2 separate regions of the Homo sapiens genome follow, and region 1 is linked to region 2. Evidence: promoter capture Hi-C in 16 types of primary human blood cells and fetal thymus (Javierre and others, 2016). All regions are on one chromosome and are shown on one strand. Each heading gives the region's core, a stretch centred on a gene start or on the middle of the fragment in contact. The rest is flanking DNA. Distances are from core to core; before and after follow the strand shown. Region 1 overlaps OS9 (OS9 endoplasmic reticulum lectin). Region 2 holds the start of CYP27B1 (cytochrome P450 family 27 subfamily B member 1).

The links. Contacts are between HindIII fragments. The CHiCAGO score rates a contact against its expected background, and 5 or more counts as called.
Region 1: a contact is called between a fragment that was not itself captured here and the fragment with the promoter of CYP27B1 in region 2, in 1 of 17 cell types (naive B cells). The highest score is 5.0, in naive B cells.

What each region holds. Positions count from the first base shown.
Region 1 is chr12:57,701,701-57,706,695 of GRCh38, reverse strand. All of the region lies in intron 5 of OS9 (OS9 endoplasmic reticulum lectin), which reads right to left. Among named protein-coding and RNA genes, the nearest start is that of OS9, 10 kb to the right of the region's middle. The HindIII fragment of the contact is 562 bases long and covers 2,795-3,356 here.
Region 2 is chr12:57,765,747-57,770,533 of GRCh38, reverse strand. CYP27B1 (cytochrome P450 family 27 subfamily B member 1) reads left to right here and starts at 3,456. Exons shown (of 9, transcript NM_000785.4): 1 at 3,456-3,687; 2 at 4,337-4,527. The coding sequence starts at 3,493. METTL1 (methyltransferase 1, tRNA methylguanosine) reads left to right here. Exons shown (of 6, transcript NM_005371.6): 3 at 578-762; 4 at 856-969; 5 at 1,130-1,231; 6 at 1,383-2,063. The coding sequence ends at 1,538. The HindIII fragment of the contact is 11,205 bases long and covers 2,573-4,787 here.

The DNA of each region.
Region 1 (4,995 bases), core at 1,826-4,325, 63 kb after region 2:
AAACTTTTTTTTTGAGAGACAGGAGTCTCACTATGTTGCTCAGGCTGGGCTCCTAGGCTCAAGAAATCTTCCTGCCTTGGCCTCCCAAAGTGTTGGGATTACAGGCATGAGCCACCACACCCGACCCTACCTAACCTTTGAAGAATAATCTCTATCTTAGCAAACTGCTCCACAGAGCAGAAAAAGAGGGAAGCTCCTCAAGATATTTTATGAAGTGAATGCAACTTTATACAAAAACAAGGTAAGTACAAGAAGAGAAAATTATAGACCAATTCACTTACGAAAATAGTTATAAAAGTTAATTATACTATCAGGATACTGAATATAGCAATGTACAAAAAAAAAACTTCATGACCATGGATTATCCCAGAAGTGAAAGAATAAAAAAAAACTAGAAAATAAATTAACATTTTTAATATTAAAAAAACCATATGACTATCTCAATAGACACAGAATAAGCATGTGTTAAACTTCCACACCTATACATGGTGAAAATATCCAGCAGTCTAGGTACAGAATGGAACTTCACATACCTGATAAAAGGTATCTGCAAAAAGCCTGCAGGAAAACATCACGCTAACAGTGAAACTTCAGGAGCATCCCCTTTAAAGTCAGAAACAAGTCAAGGATGCCCATCATTGCCACTTCTGTTGCACTCGAGGTATAAGAAAAATGAAATGTATACAACTTAGAAAGGAAGAAACCAAAACTGTTTCTCTTGCAGATGACATAATTATCTATACAGAAAATCCACAAGAATTTGTGAACTACTAAAAATGAAAGAGTTCAAAAAAGAGTTGCTGAGTGTAAGATCAATATGTAAAACCAATAATGTGACCATGTACCAGCAACAATCAGAAAACGGAATTTTTGGCCAGGCACAGTGGCTCATTGCCTGTAATCCCAGCACTTTAGTAGGCCGACGGTGGATCACATGAGGCCAGGAGTTTGAGACTAGCCTGGCCAATATGACAAAACCCCCGCTCTAAAAAAATTACAATAATTAGCTGGGCGTGGTGGTACGCACCTGTAATCCCAGCTACTCGGGAGGTTGAGGCAGAGAATCACTTGAACCTGGGAGGCAGAGGCTGCAGTGAGCCAAGATCGCACCCCAGCCTTGATGACAGAGCAAGACCCCATCTCAAAAAATAATAATAATAAAGAAAATGAAATTTGTAAAAGATGCTACTTAAAATAGCATCTAAAACTATAAGGTCCTGTATGTTTGAAATATATGCATACACAAACAAGACAAAAATAAAAACTATAAGGTATCTAGACTAATCTCACATAAGATGTAGAAGAACTTTTAGAGAAAATTAAAGCTTTACTAAAATATAGGACAACAAGTAAATGGAAACAAACACGTTCATAGTGTATGAAGACTTCATATTATAAAGTATCAATTCTCTTCAAATCAGTCTAAAATTAAATTCCAGCCAAAATCCCCAAAAGGAGTTTTAACAGAACTTGGCCAATGATAGCCCCAACAGTTTTGAAGAAAAAAGGGGAGTATATCCTACCAGATACCAAGATTTATGAAAAAGCTATAGTAATTAAAACAACGTGGTAATGACATAGGAATAGATAGACTATTGGAACAAAAGAGAAGCCAAGAAGAAAATGCACATATATTTGAGAACTTGGTAAATAACTGAGGAGGCATTACAAATCAGAGAGGAATGTATGGACTATTCAATAAACAGTGCTGGGGCAACTGTGGAAAATAGGTGTATCTAGGTCCTAACCTTATAACATACATTAAGATAAATTTTTACTGAATTGTAGTCCAAAGTATGAGAAACTCTATTCACACTTTTCTACTTTTTTAGAAACCTGAAAAAAACAGATGAATAGTAAATAGGAAAGGATTAAATAAAAGACATAAGATGTATAAGGTATAAAGAAAAAGACTGATAAGTTTGACTATATTGGAATTTAAATTTTTTAAATTAAAATTCATTTAAGACACTATAAACAAAACAAGAAGACAAAGTATAGATAGAAAGAATGTAGGTGACAAATAATTAAATCTGAAATTTATAAAGAATGCTTTCCTAACTTATTCTGTGAGGCTGGCATTACCATAATATCAAAGCTAGACAATACTACTACAAAATACTACAAGAAAACAATAGACTAATATCTTTTTTTTTTTGGAGATGGAGTCTTGCTCTGTCACCCAGGTTGGAGAGCAGTGGTGCAATCTTGGTTTGCTGCAACCTCCGTCTCCCAGGTTCAAGCGATTCTCCTGTCTCGGTTTCCCGAGTAGCTGGGATTACAGGTGTGCGCCACCACGCCCAGCTAATTTTTGTATTTTCAGTAGAGATGAGGCTTCACCATGTTGGCCAGGCTGGTCTCGAACTCCTGACCTCAGATGATCCACCTGCCTTGGCCTCCCAAAGTGCTGGGATTACAGGTGTGAGCCACCACTCCCGGCGACTAATATCTTTTATACATATAGATGCAAAATTCCTCAACTAAATGGTAGCAAACCAAATTCAGCAGCATATTAAAAGCATTATACATCATGATTTATGTTGGATTCACTCCAAGAATGCAAGGATGGTTCAACATAGGTAAATCAATGTCATATACATTAATAGAATGAAGGGGAAAAAACCCAAATGATCATCTCAACTGATGCAGAAAATGGACTTGATAAATTCAATAACCTTTTCATGTAAAAAAACAATCAACTAGGAATAGGAGGGAATGTCTTCAGTTATTGATAAAGTCCATATAAGAAAAACCCACAGTTAACGTCATACTCAATGGTGAAACATTGAAAGCTTCTCCCTTAAGATTAGGAACAAGACAAGGACAGCCATTCTTTTCATTTCTATTCAACATAATACTGGAAGTTTTAGAGTGATTAGGAATGAAAAAGAAATGAAAGGCATCCAATGGTGTTTTTTATAGAAAAAAAAAAATCTTAAAATTCACATGGAATGTCCAGGGATCCCAAATATCCATAACAATATTAAAAAAAGAACAAAGTTAGAGGACTCACATTTCCTGACTTAAATCTTAATACAAAGCTACTATAATCAAAACAGTGTGATACTGGCAAAAAGACAGACATATTTACCAATGGAATAGTATAGAAAGGCCAGAAATAAACCCTCACATATATGGTCAACTGATTTTTGGTAAGGATACCAAGAATATTCCATGGGGAAAGGACAGTCTTTTCAACAAACGATGCCAGGAAAACTGGATATCCATATTCAAAACAATGAAGTTGGACCATATGCAAAAATTACACCACATACAAAAATTAACTCAAAATCAGCAGCTGGGCACAATGGCACACCCCTATAATCCCACCTACTCAGAAGCTGAAGTAGGAAGCTTACCTGAGCCCAGGAGTTTGAGGCTAGCCTGGGCAACATAACGAGACCCCCATCTCTAAGAAAAAAAAATTAACCTCAAATGAATCAAAGACCTAAATTTAAGAGCTAAAACTATAAAACTCTTGGAAATCAAAATTAAAAGCTTTTGTGCACCAAAGGACACTGCTGATGCAGGAGAATCGCTTGAACCTGGGAGGCGGAGGTTGCAGTGAGCTGAGATCGCGCCATTACACTCCAGCCTGGGCAACAAGAGTGAAACTCTGTCTCCAAAAAACAAAGCAAAACAAAAGATAGTAAAAAGGCAACCACAGGATGGGAGAAAATACTTACAAATCATAGATCTGATAAGGGATTAATATTCAGAATTTATTACATAAAGAACTCTCACAACTCACCAACAAAAACCAACTCAATTCAAAAATGGGCAGAGGATTTGAATAGACATTTCTCCAAAAAAGATATACAAATGGTCACCAAGCATATGAAAAGATGTTCAACATCATTAATCACTAGGTAAATGCAAATCAAAAACCACTATGAGATACTACTTCACACCCATTAAGATGGCTATTACTGAAAAAAAAGAAAAAGAAAACAAAGGAAAATAAGTGATGGAGGTAGTGTGGAGAAACTGGAACCCTGTGCACTGCTACTAGGAATGTAAAATGATGCAACTGCTATGGAAAACAGTTTGGCAGTTCCTCAAAAAACTAAACCTAGAATTACCATAAGGCACATTCTACTCCTAGGTACAGACCCAAAAGAATTGAAAACAGGACTCAAACAGATACTTGTACACCAATGTTCATCGCAGCATTATTCACAGTAACCAAAAGATGAAAACCTATTTGTCCATCCATTGATAAATAGGTAAACAAAATGTATATACAGACAATGGAACATGATTAAGCCATAAAAAGAAATAAAATTCTGATATATGCTACAACATGGATGAACCTTGAAAACACCATGCTAAGTGAAATAAGCCAGACACAAAAGGACAAATCTTGTATGATTTCACTCATGTGAAGTACCTAGAACAGGAAACTCATACAGACAGAAAGTAGAACAGAGTCTGGGAGAGGGAGAAATAGGAGTTATTTTTGTTTGGGATGATGAAAAAAGTTTTGGAAATAGTAGTGATGGTGATAGAACACTGAATGTTTCCACTGAATTGTACACTTAAAGACTGTTAGAATGATAACTTTTAGGTTATATATTTTTTCAATCATTAAAAAAATTGAGGGCCAGGCATGGTGGCTCACACCTGTAATCCCAGCACTTTGGGAGGCCAAGGTGGACGGATCACAATGTAAGGAGTTCAAGACCAGCCTGGCCAACATGGTGAAACCCCGTCTCCACTAAAAATACAAAAATTAGCTGGGCATGGTGGCAGGCGCCTGTAGTCCCAGCTACTCAGGAGGCTGAGGCAGGACAATCGCTTGATCCTGGGAGGCGGAGGTTGCAGTGAGCCAAGATCACGCCATTGCACTCCAGCCTGGGCAACAAGAGTGAAACTCTATCTCAAAAAACAAAACAAAACAAAACAAACAAAAAATTGAATTCACCAATAACATACACTCCTGTAACCCAGTGATTCTACTTTCTAGGTATTTCCCTGGAGAAATTCTTGTACACT
Region 2 (4,787 bases), core at 2,207-4,706:
CTGCCTGGGCACAGTGGCTCACACCTGTAATCCCAACACTTTGGGAGGCTGAGGCAGGTGGACCACTTGAGGCCAGGAGTTCAAGACCAGCTACTCAGGAGGCTGAGGCAGGAGAATTACTTGAACCTGGGAGGCAGAGATTGCAGTGAGCCAAGATTGTGCCACTGCACTCCAGCCTGGGTGACAGAGCAAGACTCCATCTCAAATAAATAAGTTCCAGTTCTGCCCCTTCTTAACTCTATGATCTTCGGCATATCTGACCCTCAGTTTCCTTATCTTCACAATTTACCACAGAGTGTTATAAGGATGAAATAACACAATGTGTGAAAACACTGTGGAAAACTCTAAAGCAATGGCAAATATACATGTATCCTCAGCCCTCCCATTCTGGTCCTGGTGACAATTTTCATTTCTCCCCCCGCCTCTTGAGCATAAAACTATCCATATATGTATCTCTGTCCTCTCTTGCCGTTCTGGACTTTGGTAGTTGCAGGTTGAGGCTTCCTTTCCTGTGTTGACCCCTTTGCACTTCCTACAAGTATATGGTTGATGATTCCATTGCTATTTCTGTGTGCAGTGGAACTGTCACCGCTGTTCCCAGACACACTTATTCTGGGTCTGGAGATCCGGGTGAAGGTCTCAGACTATGTACAAGACCGGATTCGGGCCCTACGCGCAGCTCCTGCAGGTGGCTTCCAGAACATCGCCTGTCTCCGTAGCAATGCCATGAAGCACCTTCCTAACTTCTTCTACAAGGGCCAGGTGGGGAGGGGCCCTGGTGGGTTAGGCTGGTAGGCAGGTGGGGGCATGGAGGCCAGGCTCTCACAACCCTGTTGGTGTGTGTCTGTCTCACAGCTGACAAAGATGTTCTTCCTCTTCCCCGACCCACATTTCAAGCGGACAAAGCACAAGTGGCGAATCATCAGTCCCACCCTGCTAGCAGAATATGCCTACGTGCTAAGAGTTGGGGTGAGTTGGGATCGGAGGGATGATGGGGTGAGTGGCCTACTCAGGGGCCCTTCACTAAGAATTCAGTGGGGGTGCATTTAGGGACTCACACCACCACTTCCTTCATCTGGCTGCTGACGTTGCATGCAGCCTCCTGTCTAGGGTGATTTTGCCTATGCAGGGGCTGGTGTATACCATAACCGATGTGCTGGAGCTACACGACTGGATGTGCACTCATTTCGAAGAGCACCCACTGTTTGAGCGTGTGCCTCTGGAGGACCTGGTGAGTAGGGGACCTAGAGGAGGTGGAGGCCCTTTCCAGAGTGGTTCTGTATTTGGACTTAACTCAGTGCCAGGAGGATGGGATAGGTGTCTAAGGGCCAGGGGCAGTCTGAACAGTGGGCAAGGACTTATTGGACCCTTCCTTCTCCCAGAGTGAAGACCCCGTTGTGGGACATCTAGGCACCTCAACTGAGGAGGGGAAGAAAGTTCTACGTAATGGAGGGAAGAATTTCCCAGCCATCTTCCGAAGAATACAAGATCCCGTCCTCCAGGCAGTGACCTCCCAAACCAGCCTGCCTGGTCACTGACTGCTTACTCTACCTTAGCTGGACCTCGTCTCCCAGGGATTAGAGAAAAGAGCAGGAGTCCTGGGTCTTCCCAGTTGAGACTGCTGGAGCTGAGACACAGTACTCTCTTAAAGAAGGTGGGGAGCTGCCCAGGGCAGAACCCACTGGTGTTCATGACTACCCCTGGCTCCTCTCACCTTGTCCCTCCACTGCCAACAGAAAACAAAGCAGCTGACTGAGATGGTCAAAGGACTTTGGACCATAGGGGATCTTTGGAAGGCTGTGGGGTCTTGCTCTTCCTTAGCACTCCTTTCTCCTTGTGAGATCTCTCCTCAGCTGGAATGAGGAATGTAGTCCATCTAAACTGCTTGCTAGGCTCAATTACCACTTCTGTTTGCTTTGTGGATCCTGGGATAACATGTATATGTGTACACATGCCTATTCTGCCATTTCTCAGGAAAGGGTGGAGTATGTATCATATGCCTTCTACCATCCTCCTGTCCTCTCCCTGCGTAAGACTTGACCTGGGGAATCTGTGTTCCCTAAGTGTTGTCTCTGGAGAGTCCTTGGGAAGGTGTGGGGGTGGAGACCCTCTCCTTTTTCACATTGACCTTCAATTCCAGAACTTCAGAGCTAGCTGACTGGCACAGAGCCTGATAGAGTTGCAGTGGGGAATGAGGGAGTAAGGAGCAGAGAGGTAAACTGTGGGAGATTCTTTTATTTTAATTTTTTTTAGAGACAGGCCCTCTCTCTGTTGCCTAGGCTGGAGTGCAGTGGTACAATCATAACTCACTGCAGCCTTGACCTCCCGGGCTCATGTAATCCACCTCAGCCTCTCAAGGCACTACAGGCATACGCCACCATGCCTGGCTAATTTTTGTATTTTTTGTAGAGACAGTTCCACTATGTTGCCCAGGCTGGTCTCAGACTCCTGAGCTCAAGCAGTCTGCCCACCTTAGCCTCCCAAAGTGTTGGGATTACAGTCATGAGCTGCCGTGCCCAGCCTAATTTTTAAACTTCTTCTGTAGAGACAGTCTTGCTATGTTGCTCAAGCTTGTCTCAACCTCCTGGCCTCATGCCATCCTCCTGCCTCAGCCTCCCAAAGTGCTGGGATTATAGGCATGAGCCACCACAGGATTCTGAGGCTAAAAGTAGAAAGGAGCTGCTAACCAGAAAGCCCCCCAGAGGAGACCGAGTCAGCTGGGGAATTAGAACATCCACATCCATTTAGCTCCTCTAACACCCCACAGACAATCTCTGAACTTAACTAATGTACAAAAAGTTTCATTTCTGCTTCTCAAGCCCCAAATTCCCATGTCTGGAAGGAGGGGGCTTGTATACCCAAGAGACCCCCTTATCCTCAAGAAAGAAAGATGGAGGTTCTAGGAGCCATTTTAGCCCATTAACCCACCTGCCATCTGCCCAGTATATGTTAGGTACAGGAGGAGGGGGAGGTGTGGCTAGTGCAGGAAAATAATGCAGAGAAGATACAACCCACTAAGCCAAGAATGTGGGGACAGTTACAGCTGTGCCTCCCCTGCTTCCCTTCCTGGAGGAGCTGAAAGATGGGGAATTCCTGAGGATGGGCCTAAAGGGGCTGGGCTCACTGGTAGAAGTGGGAATATCAGAGACTGACTAGTGTAGCTTGGTCACCTAGTCCCTACTAAAAAGCCTTATAGCCTTTCCTAGGATGAGACTTTGAGGCTCCTAGACAAAGGCACTCTCCCAGGAGGAAAATCTTAGGCCCTCCCTCCCATGAGGGTCATTGCAACATGAGACCCAAGGGAGTTGTGAAGTCAGCCCCAGCCCCGCCTACTGTTCCTGGGTGCTAATCCCCAGCACAGACCACTCAGGAGGAGGGATTGGCTGAGGAGCTTGGAGAGGGGGCGTCATCACCTCACCCAAAGGTTAAATAGGGGTTGAGATATGATGCTCAGGAGAAGCGCTTTCTTTCGCGAGCACCCTGAACCAGACCATGACCCAGACCCTCAAGTACGCCTCCAGAGTGTTCCATCGCGTCCGCTGGGCGCCCGAGTTGGGCGCCTCCCTAGGCTACCGAGAGTACCACTCAGCACGCCGGAGCTTGGCAGACATCCCAGGCCCCTCTACGCCCAGCTTTCTGGCCGAACTTTTCTGCAAGGGGGGGCTGTCGAGGCTACACGAGCTGCAGGTAGGAAGGGACGCCTTTCCCGAGACAGAGTGCTGGGGAAACTGGTTTTGACAGCGTCAGAAAGGACTGACTAGTGCAGAGCAAATGTGGGACAGCCAGAGAGAACGGATGCCCATGAAATAAGGAAAAGGCGAGTTGAGGCTGGGGGCGGTGTGGCTACACTCGGGCAGAGCCCGTCCCGACTCTTAGCAGAGGGCGCTGCGAAAGCGCCTTCTCGCTGTCCTGAGGTGTGGAGATCCTGCAGATAAAGTACAAGTGCGCGGGAGGGGGAGGCCGGAGTGGGCAGTACCCTCCGCCTGCTTGCGGCTTAAAGCTACATGGGTTCCTTTTCATTCACTGAGGACTCGTCCTGAGATGGACAGTCCAGACATGGAACTTTTAGAGATTTCTCCTCGACCGAGATGATCAGAGAGGTCCTGAATGTCTGCCTTGCACAAAGTTCCGGTTTTGCCCATCACACTCAAACTTTCTAGGGATGGGAAATGAGAGAGGAGGAGTTTGCAGTATCAAAGGCATACACTAGTTGGGCACCCGAGAAAGAGCAGAAGCTCCCTATTCCCAAGCCCAGTCAACGCCCTTGGCGTGGGCACAGGTCAAGCTGAAAGTCCCCGCCCAGGTATCCAAGTGTCCGCTGTGTCCGCTCCCCCAGGTGCAGGGCGCCGCGCACTTCGGGCCGGTGTGGCTAGCCAGCTTTGGGACAGTGCGCACCGTGTACGTGGCTGCCCCTGCACTCGTCGAGGAGCTGCTGCGACAGGAGGGACCCCGGCCCGAGCGCTGCAGCTTCTCGCCCTGGACGGAGCACCGCCGCTGCCGCCAGCGGGCTTGCGGACTGCTCACTGCGTGAGTCTTCTCTGCCCCCAGAAGCCCAGACGCCCTGCAGCGGCCCTCTCCTGCTGCGGGTCCCGAAACTATCAATCTGGGGGCATGGTGGGAGGTCGGCTGTCCCACTCTACCATTGGGCATCTTGGGGTTCCCATCCCAGTCTGCTTCACCCACACTCAGGTTGAGCCCCAACCTCACTCCCCGCCTACCTCCTTATCCTTTGAGGCCCGAATCCTGGGAACTGGGGGAACCGGAGGAATTGGGCTAGGGTACAAGGA